Regions from separate parts of the Homo sapiens genome. Here all the other regions are linked to region 1. The links are contacts of gene promoters, found by promoter capture Hi-C in human tissues and cell types (Jung and others, 2019). All regions are on one chromosome and are shown on one strand. The core of a region is centred on a gene start or on the middle of the fragment in contact, and the rest is flanking DNA. Distances in the headings are between cores, read along the strand shown. Region 1 holds the start of ITPKA (inositol-trisphosphate 3-kinase A). Region 2 overlaps MGA (MAX dimerization protein MGA). Region 3 overlaps MGA (MAX dimerization protein MGA). Region 4 overlaps MGA (MAX dimerization protein MGA). Region 5 overlaps CHP1 (calcineurin like EF-hand protein 1). Region 6 overlaps MGA (MAX dimerization protein MGA). Region 7 overlaps OIP5 (Opa interacting protein 5).

Region 1 (4,011 bases), core at 916-3,415:
CTTGGAGCTGGAAGGGCCCTCAGCGGCGATTTGCACCGGCTCCCGACGGCTCGGAGGGCGGCGGGGTCGCCCAGGTCCCCGAGGCTTGACCTTAGCCGGGGCGGTCTCTACACCCAGGCTTGGGCCGCAGGACCTCCTCCTAGCGCACTCCCTCTCCCAGGCACTTCGCCGAGTCCCTGCGGGCGGAAGAGGGAAGCGGGACGCGCCCGCGCTTCGCGCCCTTTCGCCTGCACCGGCTCTCAGGTGTCAGAGCTTCCGCGCCCCGGGAGCTGCTGCTCAGGCTTTTCCGAAGAGGCGGGGCGGGGGGCCTCTCACTGCCCCACACTCCACATCCTGGGAAGCCCCGGCATCCGCCCCCCGACCTAGGCAAGGGTTACCCCAGAAACGATCCTGGGTCCGGGGCTGCTCTGACCACCGGGGAAGAAGGGGAAGCGGCAGGCTAGTGACCGAGCCGGCGCACCCAGCACCTGGCGGCGGGGGGTGTTCCTGCTCTGTGAGGCTTTTCCCCTCTGGTGTCACTGACAAACCCCATCGGCCTCCGGGCTTGTGAACCCCTGCAGGTCGCCACAGCTTCCCTGCCTTGTCCCAGCCGATTGTGCGGCGGAGCAGGCGCGCGGCCACAGCTCTCCCCGCCCCGCCGCGCCGACCCGGACTTATGGGCAGGCCCCAGACGCCCGAGGCCGGGGGCGCCCCTCGCCTCTTCCTCGGCCTCAGGGACACTTGCGAAACGTGGATCTAAAGAAAGTCCTTCGCGCTGACCACGGACAGTTATTCAAGGTATTTGGCCTTGGTTAAAACGAGGGGAACAAGGAGGGTGTCCCGGGAGCCGCACATCCCTAAGTGGCGGGCGTCAGGAATGACTTAACAGTGCCCAGGGCTGTGTTTTCCGAGGGTCAGACCTGGTCCCAGAACACCCAGGCTATCAGAGGCAGAGACTAGCAGAGTGATCCTGCCCCCTTGCAGCCTCAGTTTACCGCCCCTCTCTGCCGCGCTCAGGAGCGGCGAGCCGGGAAGATGGGAGGCAGGGCGCGCACTGGGTGGGCTGCGTTCCGCTCCCAGCCAGAGCTCCCAGGCCCACGCCCCTCCCTCCCCTGCGTCCACGCCTCGTGCGGGCGCTGGGAGCAGACGGCAGCGGCTCCCGAGCAGAGCCTGGAGCGCCGCTCCACTCCCACTCAGGAGAGGGAAACCGTGGCAACGGCGGGGGTGCGGCCGCGGCACCGGAGAGGGGGCGGGGGGTAAGGGAAACTCTCCTTCGCCTCTCTCCTTCCGAGGGTTCACCCGGCAAGGCTCAGCCCCTCCGATCCCTCCTGTCCTAACCCACAGCCAACAAGGTCCGCTACCCCCGCTTCGCCCAGTCCCCGCGGCGGGTCGCCTGCTCCTCGCCCCGCTTCTTAGACGCCCCAGGGCCAGCGCCACGACCCGCCGGCGGAGCCGAGGTGAAAGTTGCCCAGGCGAGAGGTCGGCCAGGCGCCTCCCTCTGACCCCCAGATTCCTCCTAAACCGCGAGAACAGGACCTTCCGCTGGAGGGAGCATGGACAGGAGCGGGTCCTCCGGGAGCACCCAGCCAGGTCCCCCGTGCAGCCCCCGCGCCCGGCGCTGGCCCCGCCCCCGCGGCCCGTACCTGACCCACGTCCTCGCCCGCTTCCAGCTGCACGTTGCCGCGGCTCCGGCTCTCACTGTCGCTCAGCAGGTCGTCCTCCGAGTCCTCGAGCAGCGACGAGGAGCCAGTGGAGGAGACCGACGAGGTGGAAAGGCGGCGCGGCTGCTGCAGGTGCGAAGAGCCCGCTGCCGGGAGGCAGTCCCTCTCCCGCTCCGGCGGCCCAGGGCTGGTCGGGGGCACGTCGGGCTCCTCGGCTGTCACGGTCAGCTGAGGGATCACCGGGGCCGGGGGAGCCCGCGGAAGCCCGTTGGGGACCTGTCCCCCACGCCGCTTGGCCCCGCGGGCCCGGGGCTCCCCCGCGGCGGCGGCCGCAGCGACCGCCGCACAGCGCGCCTCGAAGAGCAGGCGCAGCTCCCCGACACTCCGGCGCGGGGCCCGCTCCAGCCCCGGGCTGCAGGGCCTCGCGCCCCCCGGCCGCGCCATGCCCGTTGGGCCCCCGGGCAGGGTCATTTCCCAGTGCCGGCGCCGCCGCTGAGCCCACCAGCCCGCGGCGCGCCGGGGACTGGAGCGGCTCGGCGCCCCCGGCTGGAGACGGCCCCGGGGCGGAGCCTGCGCCGCTGCACGCCCGCGCCCCGCCTCGGCCGCGCCCCCCGCCCACTCCTTCCACTTTCAGAGAAAGCGCGGGCCTCCCAGGGCCCCTGCGAGGGAGAGAAGGCTCTCGGTGACTCCTCGGGGTGGCGGGGAAGTCCAGCCTCCGTAGGCACAAAACCTGGGCCCGGGCCCCGAGGCTTCGCTCCGCCTGCCCTCGGGGAGGTGGGAGGGGCCGCTCCGCGCTGGGGCCTCGCAGCCTTCCCGGGCTTCGCGGCTGGGAGAGATTCCTCCAGGCCGCTCCACAGGCCCTGTCCCCGCGCAGGAGAAGCTGGTCCTACTCTTGGTCCCCTACCCCGTTCCTCGGGTTCCTTTGCGTGTTCATCCCTCCCGGGCAAGGGCTTCAAGTCTCGGGGCCTTTCTCCGGCCCGAGCTCCTGAGCAGAGTTGAAGGCCCCCGGCTTCCCGAAGAAGCCCCACCCCAGGGCGTGCACCCAAGTGGAGACTCTGCCCCAGGGACTAGCTGAGGCTGCTCCCCGCAAGTTCCCCACTTCCCGGCGGGCAGAGAACAAGGTCAGGGGGCGGGGCCTGGATCTGTCCCCATGGCCCAGCCTAGTCCCGGGCTGCATCTCCCCCGCTGCTGGGTGGCAGGAGCTGAGCCCGCCTTCCTCCTCCTCTGTTATAGGAGCTCGGGGCTTGGAGTCCGCCGTGTGGCGTTCAGCAAGTCATTTCACCTCCCTCGACTGCGGATTCTCCCGTTGCTGCGAGAATAAAATAAAAGACTTGAAATCAGGTACACCACACTCTAGATGTGATTTGTAGGCAGTCCCTTTACTCCCTCCGTATATTTCTGCATTTGTACATTTAGAAAAACCTCATCCAACCCACAGAGTTGTGTCTGTAAAACTAGGAAGACAGCACTGATGTTTAAGAGTTTCAGACACTGCAAAGTGCTTATCAGTGTCATTCCATGTGGATCTTCGGCCACTTCCCATGTTGGTAGTCAGCTGACCGACCGGCGAGGCTGCTTTGAGGAGAAGCCACTGTTTCCTATCTTACCATAGTGCCACAGGAGTGAGGGTCCCCCCTCAGGCACTCAGTGTCTGGGGATGGCTGGGGCCCTGGAGACAGAGCAGCCCCAGAAGGATTGCCTTGGATGCTGAGATGGCCGCAGGAGGGGCTTTCCTTCCCTTCTCTCCCCTCAGCCAGGGCTCAGGAATGGCCCAGGAGAAGGAAAGAAGAAGGTTCAGTGGGAAGACGGGAATCTTCGGCAAAGCATAGTGGCTCAGGCTTGTAACCCCAGCACTTTGGGAGGGCAAGGCGGGCAGATTGCTTGATCCCAGGAGTTCGAGACCAGCCTGGGCAACATGGCAAAACCCTGTCTCTACTAAAAATACAGAATATTAGGCAGGTGTGGTGGTGTGCACTTGTAGTCTCAGCTACTCGGGGAGAGGCTGAAGTGGAAGGATCACTTGAGCCTGGGAGGTCGAGGCTGCAGTGAGCTGAGATCACCACCACACTCCACCACCACACTCCACACTCTAGCCTGGGCAACAGAGTGATAACTTGTCTCAAAAAAAAAAAAAAAAAAAAAAAAAAAAGCTGAGTGTGGTGGCATGCACCTGTGGTCCCAGCTACTTAGGAGGCTGAGGTGAGAGGATTATTTGAGCCCAGGAGGTCGAGGCTGCAGAGAGCCATGACATTCCACTGCACTGCAGTCTGGGTGACAAGTCATACGCTATCTCAAAATAAACAAATAGGTGAAGATCCTGGAGAACTGAGGAAGGAAGCAAAATAATGTAAGAAAGAATGGCAATGAGAGA
Region 2 (3,699 bases), core at 553-3,052, 250 kb before region 1:
TTTGTTTCCCCCAATTTCTAATGTAAAAACTTGTTTCTACCATTTCCTCCTGTCTGAGCACTCTCACCTCTTTACAGCTGTGCTATTATGAGATGCTTACGTATTACATATTCCTAAAATATATAAAGACATTTCTCCAAACAGATCAGGATAGGATTGCTTTTTTTACTCCCCTTAATCACAACTGAAGCTGCCTTAATAAAAGGTAAAATAGATTCTTTTTTTTTTTTTTTTTTTTTTGGAGATGGAGTCTCACTCTGTCACCAGGCTGGAGTGCAGTGGCACGATTTCGGATTACTGCAACCTCTGCCTCCCGGGTTCAAGTGATTCTCCTGCCTCAGCCTCCCCAGTAGCTGGGACTACAGGCGCATGCCACCACTCCCGGCTAATTTTTGTATTTTTAGTAGAGATGGGGTTTCACCATGTTGGCCAGGATGGTCTCTATCTCTTGACCTCGTGATCCACCCGCCTCGGCCTCCCAAAGTGCTGGAATTACAGGAGTGAGCCACCGCGCCCGGCCAAAATAGGTTTTAAGGCAAACAATAAATATCTTCTATCTTCACACAACTCTAACCATTCAGCCAGAGATTTCAACTGACACTCTTACCTAACATTCCTAACAGATTTGAAACAACAAAAAGAGGAATTCAATAAACCAACTATAGATACTCTCAATGCTAAAACACAAATGTTTCAAGAAGGTAATTTATTACAGACTTCAGCATTTAAATGTTAAGGAAAAGAGAGATTTTCATTCATAGAACAGAGATGAATGGAATAAATCAACACTTTCAAAATTGTATTTATAGGAGCTTTCCACTTTAAGCCTATACTACTTACACCACTAGCTTTTGCTAGCTCCTTGGTTTCATAAGTTTAAGAAGTATCAACAGAAGCATTTACATAGCACCAGCAAGAGTTCAACAAGAGGCCAGAAACACCAGTCCTCACAGGAAAATAGTAAACTATTTTTAATTTAGTAAAATATTTTAGTAAATAATTTAGTATAATAGTAAACTATTTTTAAATGTCTTCCCTTTTTAGAAACAAAATTAAAATCCTTAAGTCTTTTCTACATTAATAACAACCAGTCTGAAAACCTTAAAAATAACTATAAAACTTGCCTTCAAGTCAGTGTTATTAAAAAATAAAAAATATATATAAAACCAAGAAATTAACTATAAAACAACTCAATTCATCTAATATTGCAGGTTATCAGACGTTAACCCCAAACAATCAAAAAAGTCCAGGCAAGACAGACAACAAGAATAAGAATAATGCCAAAGTACATATTTCTCTAATTTTTACAACCTCCATACCTGTACCCACTGTCCCACCACCAAGTCATAGGCCTTTCCAAACCATACATACACCCCAACTTACCAATTGGCCGTTTTGCTGGGACAAACGCCTTCAGATTCTTCCCAGGGCGATTTGTTGCAGTGCCAGAGGAGGATGCCATTTTGGAATTGGATGTTGAAGGCAACAGGGTACGTGGTTTCCTGGATGCAGCCACCTTGGCATTGGATGCTACCTTGGAGATGACAGTACTGAGGGTTGAGAGGTCCAGGACTGAGGGTCGCAACCTGCCTGTGATATAAGCAGCTAGCCTATTGGCTGGATGCAATGCCCCCATCTGTCCCAATAGCAACTTAGCCTGCGGGTAACTCTTACCATTAACCTGAAACAAGTGGCAAAGAGAAATTCTGTAAAGATAAAATTCTCTTGCTAACTCCTCTCCCTTGACAGGGGCTTCATTTTTACAAGTTTTCATAAGTCTATTTTTCAGATTTAAAAGGGAAAAAGAAGTAGACTTTTTCCATTTAGAATAATCTGAGTAATCAGAAGGTAGAAAAATGCTGTCAACTGATATTCTGAACTAATCTCATCTCCTTCATATTGTAGTTTGAAAATAGAGAATCGGAAACTCATCATTTCTGCATCCTAGTTATGTGAAAGTTATCATCAAATCTAAACAACTAGAATTATCCAATTGTTTTCCTTGTAAATAAGGCATTCTGGTTAAGCTATTAACCTCATCAGCAAAAATGAGTGTCCCACAGAATCTCTCTGATAAGACCAGAGAGACATAATGAAGCTCTCACACAAGGGTCCTTTCAAGCATCCTTCATATTTGAAAAATATAAGTGAAATCTACTTTAAGTTATAAGACAATCATTGTTGCAATAACCTAAGCCACAATTACCTCACAGTTTTTCATTTTCAAAAAGCTTAGCTTTGAAAATACTATTTTCATCTCTTGGATAAAACATGGGTTCAAACTGAATGTTGGTACGAACTCATTCTTATTCTAGACATAATTAACTAAATAGTCAGAAGAAAGTGAACCAACAAATGAAGTAAAGATCCCCTCTGCTGCCTGAGTTTATCAGACTGCCCATCATGGGTACCAGCACAGTTGTTTTTTGTGGGGGTTGATTTCTTTTCTTTTTTTTTTAAAGAAAGAAAACAAAAACTTCCCAAGTCTCTACCCATGTTCTCTAGGTCATATTGCCAGGCAACTCTAGAGAAGATAACCTTTTCTATATTTCCTTTTCACCATTTCAAAATCGGGGGTTGGGGGAGATGGAGTGAGGTAGAATCTACTCTCTAACAGGGAACTGGTGAGGAGACCAGCTACAGCAAGCAACTCCATCTTCAGAGACACAAAACAAAATTACTCTTTGCTACTTTGGTTAAATTGTGATTATTCCCACAGAGATCAAGAATATCTCTGCCTTGAGTTTGGTACAAAGAATGTGATCATTCCCCCTGAAAGTAGACTTTACTGTAACTTTTCAGGCTATACAGAAATAGGTCAGATACCCCCTCCCGGATCCCTTGGGACTGCGCTGAAGCCTACTCTGCAGCTTCCCCAAAGTTTACAAAGTTTACAGTTGCCTGACTGCTTATGCAGACACATTCTATGGTGGCTTTGTGAGTCCTGGGCAGAAGACAACAAAAAATTTCCATGCTTGTATTTTAGGGAGTCTAGTCTCACTAGAAATTGTATCAGGCAAACCTCTGTTTTCAAAGTGTCAATCAATATATAAGGTAGAGAAAATACTGTTCTCCTCATCAAGAGTATAAGAAATATCAACAGAAGCATTTACATAGCATGCACAACAGTAAACTGCAATAATAAGTTTTTTAATTAAGTAGATCAATCATATTAATATTATTTTCTCTTTTGAGATGGAGTCTCACTCTGTCGCCCAGGCTGGAATGCAGTGGCGTGATCTCGGCTCACTGCAACCTCTGCCTCCCAGGTTCAGGCGATTCTCCTGCCTCAGCCTCCTAGCTGGGATTACAGGCACACGCCACCATGCCCGGCTAATTTTTGTATTTTTAGTAGAGATGGGGTTTCACCATGTTGGTCAGGCTGGTCTTGAACTCCTGACCTCATGATCTACCCGCCTTCACCTCCCAAAGTGCTGGTATTACAGGTGTGAGCCACCATGCCCAGCCTATATCAATCATATTATTAATGGAGAAGTCCTTAGTGACTTAGAAGCAGCCAATCTAATGAAAGTCAAGCTAACTTTGCAATAATATCAGACACTTCCACACATTTGCTACTCTAATATAAAAGTGCACTTTTTTTTTTTTGAGACAATCTCCCTCTGTTGCCCAAGCTGGAATACAGTGGCACAATCTCAGCTCACTGCAACCTCCACCTCCCAGGTTCAAATGATTCTC
Region 3 (3,947 bases), core at 526-3,025, 170 kb before region 1:
TTTAAGATGACAAAGAAGGTAGGTGCTGCTCCTGCCACTGTTCCACCATCTTGATTAGCCAATATAATCTGCTGTTTCTCCTCCATGATTTCAGTAGGAAACTCAGTAGTAAGACAACTGTAATCACCACATAGTCACAATGGCCTTCCCATCCTAAGAAACAAGCAAAAAAAAACCAAAAACAAAAAACACCCTTTAATCAAGTGAGTATTTATTTCTTGAACAAAAATACAAGAACGATTATGTTATCCCCAAAATATTCCTAAATTCTTCTAAGACTTTGCTTCTAAGCTTTTCTTTCAATCACAGTAAGAATATTTACTCTGGAATATCTAATCATTTTTTAAAGTTCATTTTAATCTAATTAGTTAAGGTGCTTATATCCTAATCCTCTAACAATTCACTATAAATACTATAATCTCACACAAAGAAACAAAAGAGTATATTCATTATTAAAAAAGTATACAAAATTAAAAAGTTAAATTTGAAGGTTATGCATTTTTAAAGCATCCTAACACTTTATGAATTTACCAGAAGATTCCTTTATATAGCAAGTTCCCCAGTGATGAGTAAATTAAATAAGTAAAGTTCCATTTTCATCCCAAAGAGCTAATTGTACAGAATTAGTTCTTCATATGGTTCAGAAGACATGGTTCCATAAATAAGTAAAAAGCTATCTAACTTCTTAGTACACACGTTTAAAGAAGCCATGACAAATCACTGGAACTCAATGGACCTTACACTGAAATAAATTCCAGATGACTCTAATATTTAATTTTTTTATTCCTAAATCCTGAGAAAAGTTTTTTGATAAGACACAAAATCTAAAACCAGTAAGGCCAAAAAAAAAAAAAGTGATAAATTTAATACTATATGATGCCAGGTGTGGTGGCTCACACCTGCAATCCCAGCACTTTGAGAGGCTGAGGCCAGTGGATCATTTAAAGCCAGGAATTCGAGACTAGCCTGGCCAACATGGCGAAACCCCATCTCTATTAAAAATTAAAAAATTAGCCTGGTGTGGTGGTGCACGCCTGTAGTCCCAGCTACTCAGGAGGCTGAGGCATGAGAATCACTTGATCCTAGGAGGCAGAAGGTGCACTGAGCCAAGATCACGCCACTGCACTCCAGCCTGGGTGACAGGGAAAGACTCCGTCTCAAAGAAATAAAAATAAAATAAAATTTAATATTCTGTAAATTTTTTAATCTGGCAAAATCATTTAAGCAAAATCAAAAAGCAAACTAACCAGGAAAAGGTATTTGCAACTTATAAAGAACTCCTTTCCCTAATATAAAAAGGGGGCTGGACATGGTGACTCACACCTATAATCCCAGCACTTTGGGAGGCCAAGGCAGGAGGATTGCTTGAAGTCAGGAGTCCCAGACCAGCCTGTCCAACGTAGTGAAAGTCCGTCTCTATTAAAAAATAATAGCGGCGGGGGAGCAGTGGCTCACGCCTGTAATCCAAGCACTCTGGGAGGCCAAGGAGGTCAGATCACTTGAGGTCAGGAGCTCAAGACCAGCCTGGCCAACATGGTGAAACCCTGTCTCTACTAAAAATAAAAAAATTAGCTAGGCATGGTGGTGTGCGCCCATAATCCCAGGTACTCGGGAGGCTAAGACAAGAGAATTGCTTGAACCCAGGAGGTGGAGTTGCAGCGAGCCAAGATGGCACCACTGCACTTCAGCCTGGGTGACAGAGCGAGACTCTGACTCAAAAAAAAAAATAAAAATACATTAACAGTAATAATAATTTTTAAAGGCTTCCTACAAATCAACAAGACCAAATACCTAACAGAAAAATGAGTAAAGGATAATAAACGCAAATGGCTATGAATATGTACATAGTTAAGAGGAAAGCAAATTAAAGTCATCTTGAGATACTGTTTTTTTACTTATCAGACTGGCAAAAATCAAAGCCTGGTAGTGCTGGAAAGGGTTAGGTCAACCAGCATTCTCCCCTAAGCAGTTACTGGGAGTATAAAATAATAGAATCTCTAAGAGAGGGCAACTTGAAAATATCAAAAGTACAAATCCATATATCATCCTATGACAAAGAATTGTTCCCAGGACTTTAAGTTTTCTTAATTCACTGTTAAAACCCACTATAGGACTTTATTTTAAATACACACACCTGTGATAAATGATATCTATACAAGATTATCCCCTGCATTCCCACTTATAACAGCAAAAGACTAGACAGGAAGAGAGAAGTCCTTAAAATGGTAAAACAAATGATGACACATCCATAGAGTGGAATGTTAACAGTCACAAAAGAGAATGTATAAGCTTAATGAATGCATGCAAAAAGTATCTACAAGATATATTAAGCGTAAAATGTTCAGAAGAGTTGTAAATTATGCCACACATCTTTTAAAAGTTTTTTATTGTACCTCTTAAACTTCAGACAGGGAGAACACGTGCAGGTTTGTTTACATGAGTCTACTGCATAATATAAGGTTTGGGCTTCTAATGATCCCATCATCCAAGCAGTGAACATAGTACCTGATAGGTAGTTTTTCAACCCTTGTAAAAGATTTTTCCTTTTTAAAATCAAAGAAATAGACAGTATTTCGGTCTTTAAAATAAATAAAAAGCCAAAGAATGAAAAAGAACATGTACATATTTGCTTTACACAGACTATCTCTGGAAAGACAGAAAAGAAAACAGTAGTATTGGTCATATCCAAGGAAAACTTGATGACTTGGAAAAGATACCCTTTTACACTTTGTAAATTTTGTGTCTTGTGAACACACAACCTTTAAAAACTAAAACACAGGCCAGGTGGGCAGGTGCAGTGGCTCACACCGGTAATTCCATCACTTTAGGAGGCCCATGTGGGAGTAACGTTTGAGGTCAAGAGTTCAAGACCAGCCTGGTCAAAATAGCCAGTCAGTCTCTACCAAAAAAAAAAAAAAAATAGCAGGTATGGTGGCCAGGAGGCTGAGGCAGGAGGACACCTTCAGCAGCCCTGGAAGTTCAGGTTGCAGTGAGCCATAACCATATCACTGCACTCCAGCCTAGGAGACAGAGTGAGACCCCGTCTCTTTAAAAAAATAAAAAATAAAGTTAAAATTAGTTAATTATTAAAGGTTATAAAGAAAAAGGTCACATATATTGTATGATTCCATTTATATGAGATGTCCAACACAGGCAAATCTAGAGAAACAAAGTAGATTAGTGGTTTCAGGGGAAGGGGTAACTGGGACTAACTGCTAATGGGTGTGGGATTTCTTTTTGGTGTATACTTTAAAATGATGAATTATATGTTATGTGAATTATATCTCAATAAAAAGTTATAATAAAGAAATGAGGCCGGCCATGGTGGCTCATGCCTATAATGCCAGCACGTTGGGAGGCTGAGGCAGGAGGATCGCTTAAGCCCAGGAGTTTGAGACCAACCTGGAAAACACAGTGAGACTCCATCTCTACAATGGTGTGTAGCTGTAGTCCCAGCTACTTGAGTGGCTGAGGTGAGAGGATCCCTCGAGCCTGGGGGTGGGGAGGCCAAGGCTGCAGTGAGCTGTGATGGTGCCACTGCACTCCAGTCTAGATGACAGAGTGAGACCCTGTCTCAAAAAAAAAAAACCAAAACGAAATCTGATTGCTAAAATCAACCGAACTCATATGCCAAATTAAAGCTACAGCTTCCAGTTTTTATACAAAAAGGAAGATGCTACATCACCACCACTCCTGTGTAAGTGGGTCAGTAATCTTAATCAAATTCAGCCACTTATTAGTCTTCTTCATTATAATTAAAAAGTATTTTACCTTTCATCAGAGCTAATGATGAGCAGCAAAAGCACCTAATCTGAATTTTACCTCTTCTTACAAGATTGGTCATACAGCTCCAAAGCTTAAAATATCTGTTAGTCTACAGATAATAGATATTTTTAAAATCACGACTTCAAAAGGTTTACTATTGTTTCCTATTATGACTAGAGATA
Region 4 (4,137 bases), core at 858-3,357, 190 kb before region 1:
ACAGGACACTGAAATTTGAACTTTAATTTTCACATCACAAATAACTATTTTTTTTCCCCAATCACTGAAAACTGTTAAAAATCATTCTTAGCTTACAAGCCAAGTAAAAACCAACGGTAGGCACATATGATCCATGGGTCTTAGTCCACCAAACCCTAATCTAAGGCAAATTAAACCAAAAACAAGTAGAACAAAGGAGTTAATGATGAGAGAAAAATCAATGAAATAGAAAAAAACAAAGAACTTGAAGTCATGATTTGAATTCTGCCAACAAGAAAACTCTGTGGCTTCACTGATAAATTCTATCAAATACATAATGAAAAAAAAAACAGCAATCTTGCACAAACTCAGCACATACAGAAAACAGAACACTTTGCAACGTGTTTTATGAGGTAACCATAACCCTACTGCTAACACATCAGAAATAAAACTATAAACAAATATCCCACATGAATTTGGTGCAAAAATCCTCAATAAAATATTAGCAAATTGAAACCAGTAATATTAAAAAGGATGATATCATCATGGCCAGGTAATGTTTAGCCCAAGAATGTAAGATCACCCCTCCCCTCTAAATCAATGTTAATTCACCATATTAACAAAATAAAGGAGAAAAAACATATGGTATTTCAATGGATTTAGAAAAATCATTTGATGAAATTCAACACTCATTCTTAACAATATTCAGGAAAATGGGTAACAGTAGGAAAGTATTTCAACATGATAAAGAGCACTACACAAAAACTACACCCAACATGCTATAAAAAATACAGAATGAGTTTCTCTAAGATCAGGAGACATGAATGACCACTCAAAAAAAAAATTTTTTTTTTAAGACAGCATCTCACTCTGTTGCCCATGCAGTGGTACAACCATGGCTCACTGCAACCTCAACCTCCCAGGCTCAACTCAAGCAATCCTCCCACCTCAGCCTCTCAAGTAGCTGGGCCTACAGGTGTGTGCCACCATGCCCAGCTAATTATTTTTTTAAGTTTTTATAGAGATGGGGGTGAGCTGGGTGGGTGTCACTATGTTTCCAGGGCTGCTTTCAAGCTCCTGGGCTCAAGTGATCCTCCTACCTCGGCCTCCCAAAGTGCTGGAATTAAAGGCGTGAGCCACCACACCCTGCCTCAAAATTTATTTTCAACACAGTACTGGGAGTCCAAGCAATGCAATAAAGCAAGAGAGAGAACAGGCATAAAGATTGGAAAGAAGATGTAAAACTAAATTTGTTCACAGGTAACACTGTACATGTAGAAAATTTCTAAAGGACTCTATAAATTAGTAAAACTCAGCTGGATTTCTATATACTATCAAAAAATTGGGAAATTATTATTATTATTTTTTTTTTTTTTTGAGACAGAGTCTCACTCTGTCACCCAGGCTGGAGTGCAGTGGCACGATCTCGGCTCCCTGCAAGCTCCGCCTCCCGGGTACACGCCATTCTCCTGCCTCAGCCTCCTGAGTAGCTGGGACTACAGGTGCCCGCAACCACACCCAGCTAATTTCTTTTTGTATTTTTAGTAGAGACGGGGTTTCACCGTGTTAGCCAGGATGGTCTCCATCTCCTGACCTCATGATCCTCCTGATCCTCCCGCCTCGGCCTCCCAAAGTGCTGGAATTACAAGCATGAGCCACCACGTCCAGCCAAAACTGGAAAATTATTTTAAATGCCAATTACAAGGATCATTTTTTAAAGCACCTAGGAATAAGTTTAATTAAAGACTGAAAAGAATGAATTATGGTTGAGATAAACTAAACAAGATCTAAATAAACAGAGATATATACCTTGTTTAACAGAATATTCAATGATGTCAAGATATCAAGTCTTTTCAACTGGATCTATTATTCAAGGCAATTCCAGCGGGTTTTTTCACAGAAACTGAAAAGCTGACTCAAAATTTATGTGGAAATACAAAGAACCCAGGACAACCAAAATAATGGGGGGTTCAAAGGCTTACCTTACCAGATTCTAAGACTTATTATAAATCTACTACCATTAAGACAGCACGGTATTGCCCAAAATAATAGAAAACATAGACAAATAAATCAATGAAACAGAATTTAGTATAAAATAAACCTACCTGTGCGCATATAGTCAGCTGATTTTCCTAAGCAACAATGCAACTTAATGGAGAAAATTATTTTCAATAAGTGATGCTAGAGCACCTAGCCATCTGCATGGAAAAATACGAACCCTGACCCTTCACAGCATGTACAAAAATTATTAATAATTCAAGACAGATCACAGAATTAAATGTGAAAACCAAAACAACTTCCCCCTTTCAAACATTTCACTTAACTGGTGAAAACAGCTCTCTCTTTATCAATTTTTTTAAAACTTTACTGTATAAGTTACATAATATAAAAGCCACCCACATTTTAAGTGTTAACTCAATAATTTTTAATAAATGTATAGTTATTAGCCATTACCAAAATCCAGTTTCCCTTTATCTGTTTTTAAAGATTAAGCAAGCAAAAACTACAGAAAAGCCACAAGCCAATCAATTTCCATAATCAAGCCCACTCTTTTCCCTTTCCCAGTTATCTCAGTTCTTATGTATATCACATATAAATGACATTCTATATCAAGTAATTTAAGATTAATGCTTAAATAACTTGCTATTTTTCTCTCGATATCTTCACATTTCAAGACATAACTCTCATAATGTAGAAAAAAATTTTTTATCTTCTTTTCATTTAGCACACAACATGCATTTGTTCGCAGTAGCTGGGAAACCTCTGAGGCTAGATCTGGGCTGCTACTGCAATAACTGCTTTCACATCTTCCTGAGAAATTGAACTTGGTAAGTTATAAACACTCTCAGAAAGGATTTCTTCTATTTTCCAACAAAAACTTTATACATGATGAATGAAATCTTGCCTTGGGGAAAAAATTTCACAAACAGTTAAGTTTCATTCTTCTGAGAAGTCTCTTCTATCCAAATAAATTAGGCAAAAGAATACCTAGGCAAAATCAATGAATTACAAACAACAGTTAATTAAAAGGATTTTTTTTGTTGGCATTATGTAATCAATGCAACAAATAACACTACATATTAATGTGTGACGAACACCAGCCACTCTAAGACACATTAAGAAAGTTTTAAATACTCATGATAAAACTCATTCACTTAACATTTGCTGAGTGCCCAGTAATGCCAGACATTTTGTTAGGCACAGAGATTAACAAAGTAAATAAAGCACTGTCTCTACATTCAAGGAATTTACAGGCCAGTGCAGGAGACAGACAAGTAGACAATATGATGCAATTTAACAGATGCTATAATAAACATACATATAGGCAATAAGGGTGCACACAGGAAGAACCCATATTATAACGCCTTCCGTAAAACTGGTGCTTAGCATGCCGTATGTAACTAACCTGCACATCCTGCACATGTATCCAGGAACTTAAAATAAAATAAAAATAATTTTTTTTAAAAAAAGGAAAGGGAAAAAAAACAAAACTGGTGCTTAGGCCATGCACGGTGGGTCACGCCTGTAATCCCAGCAGTTTGTGAGGTCAAGACGGGCAGATTGCTTGAGCTCAGGAGTTCAAGACCAGCCTGGGCAACATGGCGAAACCCCATCTCTACAAAAATTACAAAAAATAATTAGCCAAGTGTTCATGCCTGTAGTCCCAACTACCTACCTATGGGGCTGATGTGGGATGATCACTTGACCCCAGGAGGTCAAGGCTGCAGTGAGCCAAGATCGCGCCACTGCACTCCAGCCTGGGTGACAAAGTGAGACCCTATCTCCAAAAAAAAAAAAAAAAAAATTGGGGATTCATTAATAGAACAAAGAACTAAGAAATCCACTGGAAAAGAGAAATGTAGAGTACAGAAGAAAATAAAAGAGCTCTTGGCAGGCTGAGGCACGAGGACTACTTGAGCCCAGGAGGCAGGGACCAACCTGGGAAACACAGTGAGACCTTGTATCTACAAAAAATAAAAATAAAAAATTAGCCAGGTGTGGTGGTGCACACCTGTAGTCAGTCCCAACTACTCAGGAGGCTGAGGTGAGAGGATCACTTGAGGAGACCAAGAGACCAAGCTTGCAGTGAGCCATGGATTGTGTCCCAGCACTCCAGCCTGGGTAACAAAGCAAAACCCTGTCTCAATTTAAAAAAAT
Region 5 (3,882 bases), core at 24-2,523, 260 kb after region 1:
ACTACAAATACAAAAAATTAGACGGGCGTGGTGGCAGGCACCTGTAGTCCCAGCTACTCGGGAGGCTGAGGCAGGAGAATGGTTTGAACCTGGGAGGCGGAGCTTGCAGTGAGCTGAGATTGCGCCACTGCACTCCAGCCTGGGTGACAGAGAGGAGACTCTGTCTCGAAAAAATAAATAAATAAAAAAGAAATAAAATAACTGGGCACTGAAACCTCCTATAGTATGTTAAGACCAGTTTATGGCTGCTTAAATTCAAAATGTGGCAAGGCCTGGTGGCTCAAGCCTGCAATACCAGCACTTTGGGGGGCTGAGGGCGGGCAGATCACCTGTGGCCAAGAGTTCAAGACCAGCCTGGCCAACATGGTAAAACCCTGTCTCTACTAAAAATACAAAAATTAGCCAGGTGTGGTGGTATAATCCCAGCTACTTGGGAGGCTGAGGCAGGAGAATCGCTTGATCCTGGGAGATGGAGGTTGCAGTGAGCTGAAATCTCACCACTGCACTCCAGCCTGGGCGACAGAGTGAGACTCCGCCTCAAAACAAAACAAAACAAAACAAACGATAACAAAAAATAATGTACTAATATGTTAAAAATAAATAATGTAAATAAGTAGCCAAAACATTAAAAAAAAAAAAACTATCTTCCAGGACGAACTGGGTTATATGGGAGTCAGTGGAGAAACATACAACCAAATGTCAACTTTTAATACTAATCAATATGGTCATATCTAAACTTATCTCCAAAATTTTAGAACAAATTTTAGAACCATAACGATATGGTTACAAGTAATTTTGTTAACAAAAAGAAGGAGAGAAGGCTTTAATTTAGGTACTAAATTCACTGTGACAAAGAATATAAAGCAATCTCAGAACAATCCCAATCTACCTATAAAGGAGCTACACCATCCATGTGTAGAAAGGTACTGGAACTGGTGTGAATGAAGGCAGATCATGTTTCCAGTGAAGTATTTTCCCCAGAAGGCTCTAAGCTAGTCAGATAGGTGCCCAAAACCTGCACAATTCTTGGTAACCCAAAGGAAATAACAGGAGTTGACAGTTACTCTCAGAGAAGGCCGTGCATATAAACGTGTCTTTTTTCTTTTTTTGAGATGGAGGCTTGCTTTGTCACCCAGGATGGAGTGCAGTGGCGCGATCTTGGCTCACTGCAAACTCTGCCTCCCAGGTTCAGGCCATTCTCCTGCCTCAGCCTCCTGAGTAGCTGCGACTACAGGTACCTGCCACCACCATGCCTGGCTAATTTTTTTTTTTTTTTGTATTTTTAGTAGAGACCAGGTTTCACCGTGTTAGCCAGGATGATCTCGATCTCCCGACCTCGTGATCCACCCGCCTCAGCCGCCCTAAAGTGCTGGGATTACAGGCATGAGCCACCGTGCCCTGCTATAAACATGTCTTGAATGAAGCTGTATTTTTTCTCCACTGGTATGGGTATATAATCATTTTAAATTGTTAAAAGATTATTTAAAAGACCCTGTTTGGCTGAGGGCAGTGGCTCATGCCTGTAATCCTAGCACTTTGGGAGGCTAAAGTGGGAGGATCCCTTGACGAAAGGCCAGTTCAAAACTAGCCTGGGCAACAAAGCAAGACTTCATCTCTATAATCAATCAATCAATCATTAGCTGGGCATCGTGGTGCATTCCTGTACGCTGAGCTATTTAGGAGGCAGAGGCAGAAGGACTGTTTCAGCCCAGGAGTTCAAGGTTGTAGTGAGCTATGATCACACCCCTCCACTCCAACCTGGGTGACAGAGTGAGACCCTGTCTCAAAAAAAAAACACACGCCAAAAAAACAAAAAAAGACCCTGTTAACGTTGCTGAAATCTTTCTATCATCACTGCATTGTGCAAAGAGGAGGAAGGCATTTCACAGAAGTGCGAAGCAGAAGTGGCAGAGGAAAGAATAAAAACAAAAAGGGAGTAAGAAAAAGTTATTTTGGAGGGCCAGGCATGGTGGCTCATGCCTGTAATCCTAGCACTTTTGGGAGGTGGGTGGATTACGAGGTCAAGAGATCAAGATCATCCTGGCCAACATGGGGAAACCCCATCTCTACTAAAAATACAAAAATTAGCCGGGCATGGTGGCACGTGCCTATAGTCCCAGCTACTCAGGAGGCTGAGGCGGGAGAATCCCTTGAACCCGGGAGGCGGGATTGCACCACTGCACTCCAGCCTGGTGACAGAACGAGACTCCATCTCAAAAAAAAAGAAAAGAAAAAGTTATTTTGTCCTTGCCTTTATTCCAAATCTTAATGCAGAAGAACAGACTGATAACCTATGTAAAGATTACAAGTACAGCTAAAGGTAGCTCTAGATAAAGGAAAGTTGAAGCCTGCGCTTCCCGGAATAGACTACACCTTAACATTCCCCCTGACATGAAGACTTCAAGCCCTGGACTAGTCTCTTAGGGATTAAGAGAGATTTTAAAACATTATATAAAACAAACAAAATCTATCTTCTTATAATTGGAGAAATTTGAATAGGAAGTGAATGATAGATAATATTAAGGTGGCTCACGTCTATAATCCTAGCCCTTTGGGAGGCTGAGGCAGGCAGATCATCTGAGGTTAGGAGTTCGAGACCAGCCTGGCCAACATGGTAAAACCTCGTATCTACTAAAAATAAAAACAATTAGCCAGGCGTGGTGGCACATGCCTGTAATCCCAGCTACTTGGGAGGCTGAGGCAGGAGAATCATTTGAAGCCAGGAGGCGGAGGTTGCAGTGAGCTGAGATCGCGCCACTGCACTCCAGCCTGGGCGACAAAAGTGAAACTCCATCTCAATTAAAAAAAAAAAAAGAAAAAGAAAAAAAGGGGCCAGGTGCGGTGGCTCACGCCTGTAATCCCAGCACTTTGGGAGGCTGAAGTGGGTGGATCACCTGAGGTCAGGAGTTCGAGACCAGCCTGGCCAACGTGGCGAAACCCCATCTCTACTAAAAATACAAAAAATTAGCCAGGCCTGGTGGCAGGCACCTGTAATCCCAGCTACTTGGGAAGCTGAGGCAAGAGAATGGCTTGAACCCAGGAGGCAGAGGTTGCAGTGAGCTGAGATCGAGTCACTGCACTCCAGCCTGGGCAACAAGAGCAAGACTCTGTCTCAAAAAAAAAAAAAAGATAGTATTAAGAAGTATTATCAACTTTCTTAGGTGTGATAATAGTATTGTTGTTACGTAAAAACCATCCCAATACTTAAGGGATACATGCAGAAGTATGAAGGGGTAAAGAGTTCCAATACCTGCAACTTTCAAATGGTTTATCCAGAAATTTACAAAAATAAAGCTTATATCTTCGCAGCTGCTGCTGGGGTCAATTATCTTCTGAATGAATAAACCTCCAACTACTCTCTGGTCTGGACCACCATCCCCTCCTTGCCCCCGCAAAAAAGTTCCTGGCCAGTGGCTCACCTCTGTAATCGCAGCACTTTGGGGGACTGGGATGAGCGGACCACCTGAACTCAGGAGTTCAAGACCAGCCTGGGCAACATGGTGAAACCCTATCTCTACAAAAAATTAAAAAATTAGCCAGGCGTGGTGGCATGTGCCTGTAGTCCCAGCTACTCAGGAGGCTGAGCTGGGAGGATTGCTTGAGCCCAGAAGCTTGAGGCTGCAGTGAGCCGTGATCATGCCATTGCACTCCAGCCTGGATGACAGAGCAAGACCCTGTCTGAAAAAATAAATAAATAAAAATTAAAAATCAGGTAGTTGCCAGGCACAGTGGCTCACATCTATAATCCCAGTACTTTGAAAGTCTGGGGTGGAAGGATCATTTGAGGCCAGGAGTTTGAGGCTGCAATGAGCTATGATTGCACCACTGCACTCCAGCCTGGGCAACAGAGTGAGACCCTGTCTCAAAAAAAAAAAAAAAAAG
Region 6 (3,866 bases), core at 318-2,817, 210 kb before region 1:
AATTTTAAGCCCACTAAAAGAAAAAAGGAAATCATATTTCCATAGATTAATCAGAAATCATATTATCTCCCTTCTTTGTTTTTAACTTGTGCCTGGGAGATGGCGGGGGGGTAAGGTCGAGAGAGAAAGGAGATAGTGAAGAGCAAAAACAATGAAAAAAACAAACTGTAGCAGATTCAATTTAAGGTGGCCCCATGATCCATGACATCTGGTATTACACATTTGTATAACTCCCCTCACCCCGACTATGGTAGGCAGGGCCTGTAATTTGTTTCTTATCAATAAAATGTGGTAAGGGAGATGGGACGTGCATGATAATGTGCATGTGATAACACAAGTTATCCATCTTGCTGGAGCTGCAATGAAATAAATTTTGCCAATGAGCTGAGGGAAACTGGAAGCAGATCCCTCTCCAACCAAGTCTCTGAGAAACCAGGCCTGGCCAATATTTTGACTGTAGCCTTGTGAGACCCTAAGCAGAGGACCCAACTAAGCTATGCCCAGACTGCTGACACATAGAAACTGTGATACAGTAAATATATCGTTTTAAGTTGCTAAGTTTGTGATAATTTATTAAGCAAGGTAACTAATTAAAAAAGAGCAAAATTCAGATCTCTTGTGCTTTAACTCTTTGTGGTCCAGAGACTGTCTAAGGCCTCTATTACAAACTCACCATAGACTAAGCTGCTGGCCTGATTATGGCTACTGGTTCTCTAGTCCTTATTAATGACATTTATGGTTAATCAAGCCTAAAAATATTATGACTTCCTTATTTATAGGTTAAGAGGCAATATTTTGGGAAGGTATTTAACTTAAATTTTAATAAAACTGAAGCCAAAAGAAGTTCAAAGTGAAGCGTTAATTATTGGCCGGAGCTGGTGGCTCACACTTGCAATCCCAGCACTTTGAGAGGCCAAGGCAGACAGATCACTTGAGGTCAGGAGTTCGAGACCAGCCTGGCCAACATGGTGAAACCTCATCTCTACTACAAGTACAAAATTAGCCAGGTGTGGTGGCATGTGCCTGTAGCTACTCAGGAGGCTGAGGCAGGAGAATCACTTGAACCTGGGAGACAGAGATTGCAAGGAGCCGAGATGATGCCACTGCGCTCCAGCCTGGGAGACAGAGTAAGACTCTATCTCAAAAAAAAAAAAAGGGAAAAAAAAAAAGCTAAGTGTTAAGTATCATAGTAAAGCCATTAAAAGTCACAGGCGTAAGTTTCCAGTAAAAAGCTCACGTAGTGCTGGTTCTCTAACAGGTAAAGACATTAGGTAGGTTATGAACCCCATGTATCCTATACATAAAATCTATCTGAACAAAAGATGGCAAGCCAGGCACTGTGGCGTGCACCTGTAGGCCCAACTACTTGGAAAGCTGAGGTGGGAAGACCACATCTCTTAAAAAAAAAAAAAAAGACAGCTATTTTGTTTTAGTTTGCAATTCCAGTTCTTTAACATATCTTTATTGTATTACATATTTATTTATTCATTTTTTTTTTTTTTTTGAGATGGAGTCTCACTCTGTTGCCCAGACTAGAGTGCAATGGTGTAATCTCGGCTCACTGCAACCTCCGCCTTCCTGGTTCAAACGATTCTCCTGCCTCAGCCTCCCAAGTAGCTGGGATTACAGGCGTGTGCCACCAGGCCCGGCTAATTTTTGTATTTTTAGTAGAGACGGGGTTTCACCATATTGGTCAGGCTGCTCTCGAAATCCTGACCTCGTAATCCGCCCGCCTCGGCCTCCCAAAGTGCTGGGATTACAGGCCTGAGCCACCGCACCTGGCCTGTATTACATATTTATTGTATTTAATCACACAGTATGATTAAAACATCAATCAAATAAAACAGCCTTTCCTCATGTTCCCAATCAACTACGGGAAATATAGGATAATGAGTCAAAACAATGATTTCTAATCTTGCCTTTACTACTTTTTAATTGTATGACTTGGGCTAAACTTCTCTTTAGTTTTCTCAACAGTAAAATGAACACCAATCCACCACATTCAGTTGTATGCTTTGAGAATCTACTGCACTTTCTCTGTAAAGCAGGTGATCTCAGAGAGATAAAAGACATTTTGCAGGCCTGGCATTTCAGCTCACACCTGTAATCCCTGCACTTTGGGAGGCCAAAGAGGAAGGACTGGTTGAGCCCGAAAGTTCAAGATGAGTCTGGGCAACAGGTTAAGACCCCATTTCTACAAAAAATTTAAAAATTAGCTGGGTGTAATGGCACGTGCCTGTGATCCCAGCTACTCAGAAGACTGAGGTGGGAGGACTGCTTGAGCCCAGGAGGTTGAGGGTACTGCAAGCCATGATCGTGCCACTGCATTCCATCCAGCCTAGGCAAAAAAGCAAAATCCTGTCTTGAAAAAAAAAAAGACCTCAAGAAGCTTTAGTGTTATGTTTTCCCAACTGACTTTCAGTAGGTAGCATAGGGTAAATAAGTCCCTACGAGAGGTAAACAAAAAGAAATCTGAGGCCGGACATGGTGGCTCACAGCTGTAATCCCAGCACTTTGGGAGGTTGAGGTGGGCAGATCACCTGAGGTCATGCAAGAAAATCCTTCCCCAAGTAACAGACAACTGAGACCTAGACTCAGCTGATTTCATATGAAATGGGCATAAAAACTTTAGCTTGCAGAAAATAATTTGGCTGAATAATTCATAGAAAGCATATTGTGAAAAACCTATTATCTTTTTATATTTTTATTCAACCAGAGCCTACTTAGAACCTAAAATCTTGTCTACATGTCAGTTTAAACTATATTTCTAAATCGTTTTGCTTCATTTCACCATATTAGAAGCTACTTCTTAAAAATGTGTTATAATGTCATTACAAAAAAAGACTCATAAAGATAAAGCTGAAAAGAGATAACCTTTAGATTCAAGCAAAGACAGATTCACCTACAATAAGATATAGCCAAAAATGCCAACTGCTAGCTAAAACCACTGAAATACAAAAGTACACTCAAGATGTTTATAGTTCTATAAACACCTATATAAGTAGTAAACACAGAATAGAAAAGCACATATTATAAGGAAAACTCCAGCTAATCACCAATTTTTTTTGTTTTGTTTTGTTTTTGAGACGGAGTCTTGCTCTGTCACCCAGGCTGGAGTGCAGTGGCACGATCTCCACTCACTGCAAGCTCCGCCTCCCAGGTTCAAGCCATTCTCCTGCTTCAGCCTCCCCAGCAGCTGGGACTACAGGTGCCCACCACCACTCTTGGCTAATTTTTTGTATTTTTAGTAGAGACAGGGTTTCACCGTGTTACCAGGATGGTCTCGATCTCCTGACCTTGTGATCCACCCGCCTTGGCCTCCCAAAGTGCTGGGATTACAGGCGTGAGCCACCGCGCCTGGCCGCTAATCACTAATTTAATGTAACATTCAGAATTTTTTTTTTTTTACTGCAGGGCACCATGGCTCACACTTGTAATTCCAGCTACTTGGGAGGATGGGCTGAAGCCAGGAGTTTGAGACAAGCCTAGGCAAAACTGGGAGACCCCATCTCTAAAAAAAAATATTTTAAGGAAAAATAAAGCATTTTTATTAAATTACTAAAAAAGGAAGAGGAAGACAGTTCTTGAAATATTGTCATTACTCATAAAGGAAATTAACATTAAAACCGGCCAGACATAATGGCTCATGCCTATAATCCCACCACTTCAGGAGGCCAAGGCGGGCAGACCTCTTGAGCTGAAGAGTTCGAGACCAGGCTGGGCAACATGGCAAAACCCCATCTCTACAAAAAAATACCAAAAAAAATTAGCCAGGTGTGGTGGCATGTGCTTGTAGTCCCAGCTACTTGGGGGGCTGACATGTGATCACTGGGGCTCAGGAGGTCGAGACTGCAGTGAGCCATGTT
Region 7 (3,765 bases), core at 384-2,883, 180 kb after region 1:
TGTGCTACAGGATCCTACTGATGAAGTGTAAAGCTTATAATCATCGTAATTATTCATATGAGCCTGGTTTTTGTCTTTAATTTACCCTGAGATAATTTTGTCTCTGGTGGGATGCGGCAGAGATCCTCTCCAATTTGTTTATTTTTGAATTTGTTTTTCCAAGAAAATGCAGTCATCCTTCAGTATCTGTGGTTCCAGGACCTCACCAGATACCAAAATCCATGGACACTCAAGTTTCTGATATTAAGTGGTGTAATATTTGCATATTACTTTTGGATATCCTCCTTTTTAAAGTATAAAAGTATATATTTTATACTTTAAAATAATCTCCAGATTACTTATGACAGCTAACGTAATGTAAATGCTATGTACATTACAAATTTACATAGGAAATTTACAAAGTTGTTGTAATGTTAAGGGAATGATGACAAGAAAAAGAGTGTACCTGTTCAGTACAGACACAATCCAGTTTTTTTTTCCTGAATATTTTTAGTCTGTGGTTGTTTGAATCCATGGATGCTATACCCATGGATATGGTGGGCCAACTGTAACATCATGAGTCTTGAAATGAAAATCATTAAGAAGCCAGGCTTTTTTTGACACATACTTTCTTTAGAAGGTAAGTTTGGTTCTTTTATAATCTTAACCATGGTATGACACTAATATTTTTCTTTTTTCCTATCTAGCTATCTCTTAAAAACAAAAGCCATAGTAAATGCATCAGAGATGGATATTCAAAATGTTCCTCTATCAGAAAAGATTGCAGAGGTAAAATTTCATGATGGTTGTATGCTTTTTTAAAATACAGACAACTCTTGATAACTTCTACCAATGAACTTGGGGATGATGAAATGGCATGATGCTCAATAATCCTTTTTACTTGATTTGACCTTCCCTATTGAATTTGTAATGAAAAACAAAATACTAAAACCACACTGTAAGGTATAGTTCAGGAAGAAAGGAAAAGCTGCTCAACTGCTGCACTCCTGCATTCTCCTTTGTGCTGGGAATGGATATCATCATCTTGCCATAGAGGTGTCTTCTTTGCAAATACCTTGTAATTGCTCAACTGTCTCAGACATAAGAGTGATGAAACAGTTATTAAGAATTCCTGGCCGGGCGTGGTGGCTCACGCCTGTAATCCCAGCACTTTGGTAGGCCAAGGCGAGCAGAACATGAGGTCAGGAGATGGAGACCATCCTGGCTAACACAGTGAAACCCCATCTCTATTACAAATACAAAAAATTAGCCGGGCGTGGTGGCACGTGCCTGTAGTCCCAGCTACTCGGGAGGCAGAGGCAGGAGAATTGCTTGAACTGGGAGGTGGAGGTTGCAGTGAGCTGAGATTGCGCCACTGCATTCCAGCCTGGGCAACAGAGCAAGACTCTGTCTCAAAAAAAAAAAAAAAAAAAATTTAGCCGGTCATGGTGGTGGGCGCCTGTAATCCCAGCTACTTAGGAGACTGAGGCAGGAGAATCGCTTGAACCCAGGTGGTGGAGGTTGCAGTGAGCCGAGACTGCGCCACTGCACTCCAGCCTGGGCAACAGAGCGAGACTGCGTCTCAAAAAAAAATAATTCTTGCCTGGGCGTGGTGGCTCACGCCTGTAATCCCAGCACTTTGGGAGGCTGAGGCGGATGGATAACCCGAGATCAGTAGTTCGAGACCAGCCTGACCAACATGGAGAAACCCTGTCTCTACTAAAAATACAAAATTAGCCGGGCGTGGTGGCACATGCCTGTAATCCCAGCTACTTGGGAGGTTGAGACAGGAGAAGCACTTGAACCTGCGAGATAGAGGTTGTTGTGAGGCAAGATCATGCCATTGCACTCTAGCCTGAGCAACAAGAGTGAAAATCTGTCTCAAAAAAAAAAAAAAGAAAAAAAGAAGGCTGGGCATGGTGGCTTATGCCTGTAATCCCAGCACTTTGGGAGGCTGAGGCAGGCAGATCACCTCAGGTCGGGAGTTTGAGACCAGCCTGACCAACATGGAGAAATCCCATCTCTACTAAAAATACAAAATTAGCCGGGCGTGTTGGCGCATGCCTATAATCCCAGCTTTTCGGGAGGCTGAGGCAGGAGAATCGCTTGAACCTGGGAGGCAGAGGTTGCAGTGAGCCGAGAGCTTGCCATTGAGAGCGAAACTCTGTGTGGAAAAAAAAAAAAAGAATTCTTATTGGCTGGGTGCGGTGGCTCACACCTGTAATCCCAGCACTTTGAGAAGCCGAGGTGGGTGGATCATGAGGTCAGGAGTTCAGCCTGGCCAAGATGGTGAAACCCCGTCTCTACTAAAACTAGAAAAATTAGCCAGGCGCAGTGGCAGGCGCCTATAATCCCAGCCCCAGCTACTCAGGAGGCTGAAGCAGGAGAATCGCTTGGACCTGGATGGCAGAGGTTGCAGTGAGCCAAGATCACGCCATTGCATTCTAGCCTGGGTGACAGTGAGAATCTATTTCAAAAATAATAATAATAATAATTGGTATGGGAAATGACTTTGGAATGGCAGTATGAGGAGTTCCATGGATAGGATCCAGGAAGAATATTATAAAGGAAACAACCATCTTAAGTCTGTGGAAATTTTCTTCAAGGTATATGGCAAATACAGAAACATTTATTTGTTTATTTATTTTTGAGACAAAGTCTCACTCTGCCTCCCAGGCTGGAATGCAGTGGCACAGTCTTGGGTCACTGCAACCCCCTCCTCCCGGGTTCAAGCGATTCTCCCACATGGAGAATCCTTGTCTCTACTAAAAATACTAAAAAGCCTCCTGAGTACCTGGGACTACAGGCGCGCACTACCGTGCCCAGATAATTTTTGTATTTTTAGTAGAGACGGGGTTTTACCATCTCTGCTAAAAATGATGGCCAGGCTGTTCTCGAACTTCCGAGCTCAGGTGACCCACCCGCCTCGGCCTACCAAACTGCTGGGATTACAGGTGTGAGTGCCAGGTTCAAGTGCTTCTGCTTCAGCCTCCCCAGTAGCTGGGAACCCAGTTGCCCTTGCCCCCAGCTTGCTTGTAGGGTGGAAATCCTATGCTGGGAGGGGCGAATGGAGATTATCAGAAGCCACTGCTCTTGCCCTGCTGAGTAACAACACTAAATTTCATGCTAAATATAGCTGTAAGAACTCTTAAAAATTACCTAATTGCAACAGTTATCTGTTCTAAACCTAATAACCAGAGTTAACTTTGCAGACCATTAGTAGAATGTTAAAGTCAGAGAGGCATTTGTTACTGTTAACAAAGTGTTAAAAGAAAAGCTAAATTCTTGCCACTGGAAAAGGAGGAGAAGCCTGTCTCCACAAAGCACTGTGACCAGACTTTATTCATCTTCACAGTAGCAGTGCTGCTCAGCAATGTTTTGTCTTTTTTCACACGAAACTTTACATCTGAGGATCTTTTTTTTTTTTTTTTTTGAGACGGAGTCTCGCTCTGTCACCCAGGCTGGAATGCAGTGGCACGATCTTGGCTCACTGCAAGCTCTGCCTCCTGGGTTCACTCATTCTCTTGCCTCAGCCTCCTGAGTAGCTGGGACTACAGGCGCCCGCCACCGTGCCCAGCTAATTTTGTTTTTGTATTTTTAGTAGAGATGGGGTTTCACCGTGTTAGCCAGGATGGTCTTGATCTCCTGACCTCGTGATCTGCCCAACTTAGCCTCCCAAAGTGCTGGGGTTAGAGGCGTGAGCCACTGCGCCTGGCCACATCTGAAGATCTTACTGTGCGCTACGTTGTTGTATAAAGTTCTTCCAGAATTAGAAGAAATTTATTC

Evidence for each region. The method cuts DNA at HindIII sites, captures the fragments that hold promoters and counts their contacts. A contact is called where the count stands out against the background at its distance.
Region 2: a fragment that was not itself captured here is called in contact with the fragment with the promoter of ITPKA in region 1 in 1 of the 25 tissues and cell types used here (heart right ventricle).
Region 3: a contact is called between a fragment that was not itself captured here and the fragment with the promoter of ITPKA in region 1, in 4 of the 25 tissues and cell types used here (IMR-90 fibroblasts, bladder, dorsolateral prefrontal cortex and 1 more).
Region 4: a contact is called between a fragment that was not itself captured here and the fragment with the promoter of ITPKA in region 1, in 4 of the 25 tissues and cell types used here (adrenal gland, bladder, mesenchymal stem cells and 1 more).
Region 5: a contact is called between a fragment that was not itself captured here and the fragment with the promoter of ITPKA in region 1, in 1 of the 25 tissues and cell types used here (spleen).
Region 6: a contact is called between a fragment that was not itself captured here and the fragment with the promoter of ITPKA in region 1, in 5 of the 25 tissues and cell types used here (dorsolateral prefrontal cortex, hippocampus, liver and 2 more).
Region 7: a contact is called between a fragment that was not itself captured here and the fragment with the promoter of ITPKA in region 1, in 1 of the 25 tissues and cell types used here (aorta).

What each region holds. Positions count from the first base shown.
Region 1 is chr15:41,492,028-41,496,038 of GRCh38, reverse strand. It overlaps ITPKA (inositol-trisphosphate 3-kinase A), which reads right to left and starts at 2,165. Exons shown (of 7, transcript NM_002220.3): 1 at 1,623-2,165. The coding sequence starts at 2,111. RefSeq lists silencers at 1,546-1,595, 1,706-1,885, 1,906-2,525 and enhancers at 2,262-2,762, 2,763-3,263. The HindIII fragment of the contact is 23,030 bases long and covers 1-4,011 here.
Region 2 is chr15:41,737,888-41,741,586 of GRCh38, reverse strand. MGA (MAX dimerization protein MGA) reads right to left here. Exons shown (of 24, transcript NM_001400225.1): 14 at 1,384-1,681. Among named protein-coding and RNA genes, the nearest start is that of MAPKBP1, 35 kb to the left of the region's middle. The HindIII fragment of the contact is 7,051 bases long and covers 1-3,699 here.
Region 3 is chr15:41,665,034-41,668,980 of GRCh38, reverse strand. MGA (MAX dimerization protein MGA) reads right to left here. Exons shown (of 24, transcript NM_001400225.1): 2 at 1-153. The coding sequence starts at 86. Among named protein-coding and RNA genes, the nearest start is that of MGA, 6.6 kb to the right of the region's middle. The HindIII fragment of the contact is 4,748 bases long and covers 1-3,947 here.
Region 4 is chr15:41,683,224-41,687,360 of GRCh38, reverse strand. The region is part of intron 2 of MGA (MAX dimerization protein MGA); the gene reads right to left. Among named protein-coding and RNA genes, the nearest start is that of MIR626, 6.3 kb to the left of the region's middle. The HindIII fragment of the contact is 8,932 bases long and covers 1-4,137 here.
Region 5 is chr15:41,236,079-41,239,960 of GRCh38, reverse strand. The region is part of intron 1 of CHP1 (calcineurin like EF-hand protein 1); the gene reads right to left. Among named protein-coding and RNA genes, the nearest start is that of CHP1, 6.8 kb to the right of the region's middle. The HindIII fragment of the contact is 5,914 bases long and covers 1-3,882 here.
Region 6 is chr15:41,703,875-41,707,740 of GRCh38, reverse strand. It overlaps MGA (MAX dimerization protein MGA), which reads right to left. Exons shown (of 24, transcript NM_001400225.1): 6 at 1-13. Among named protein-coding and RNA genes, the nearest start is that of MIR626, 14 kb to the right of the region's middle. The HindIII fragment of the contact is 8,003 bases long and covers 1-3,866 here.
Region 7 is chr15:41,310,276-41,314,040 of GRCh38, reverse strand. It overlaps OIP5 (Opa interacting protein 5), which reads left to right. Exons shown (of 5, transcript NM_007280.2): 4 at 687-768. OIP5-AS1 (OIP5 antisense RNA 1) reads right to left here. Exons shown (of 5, transcript NR_152821.1): 5 at 703-2,143. Among named protein-coding and RNA genes, the nearest start is that of OIP5, 20 kb to the left of the region's middle. The HindIII fragment of the contact is 4,895 bases long and covers 1-3,765 here.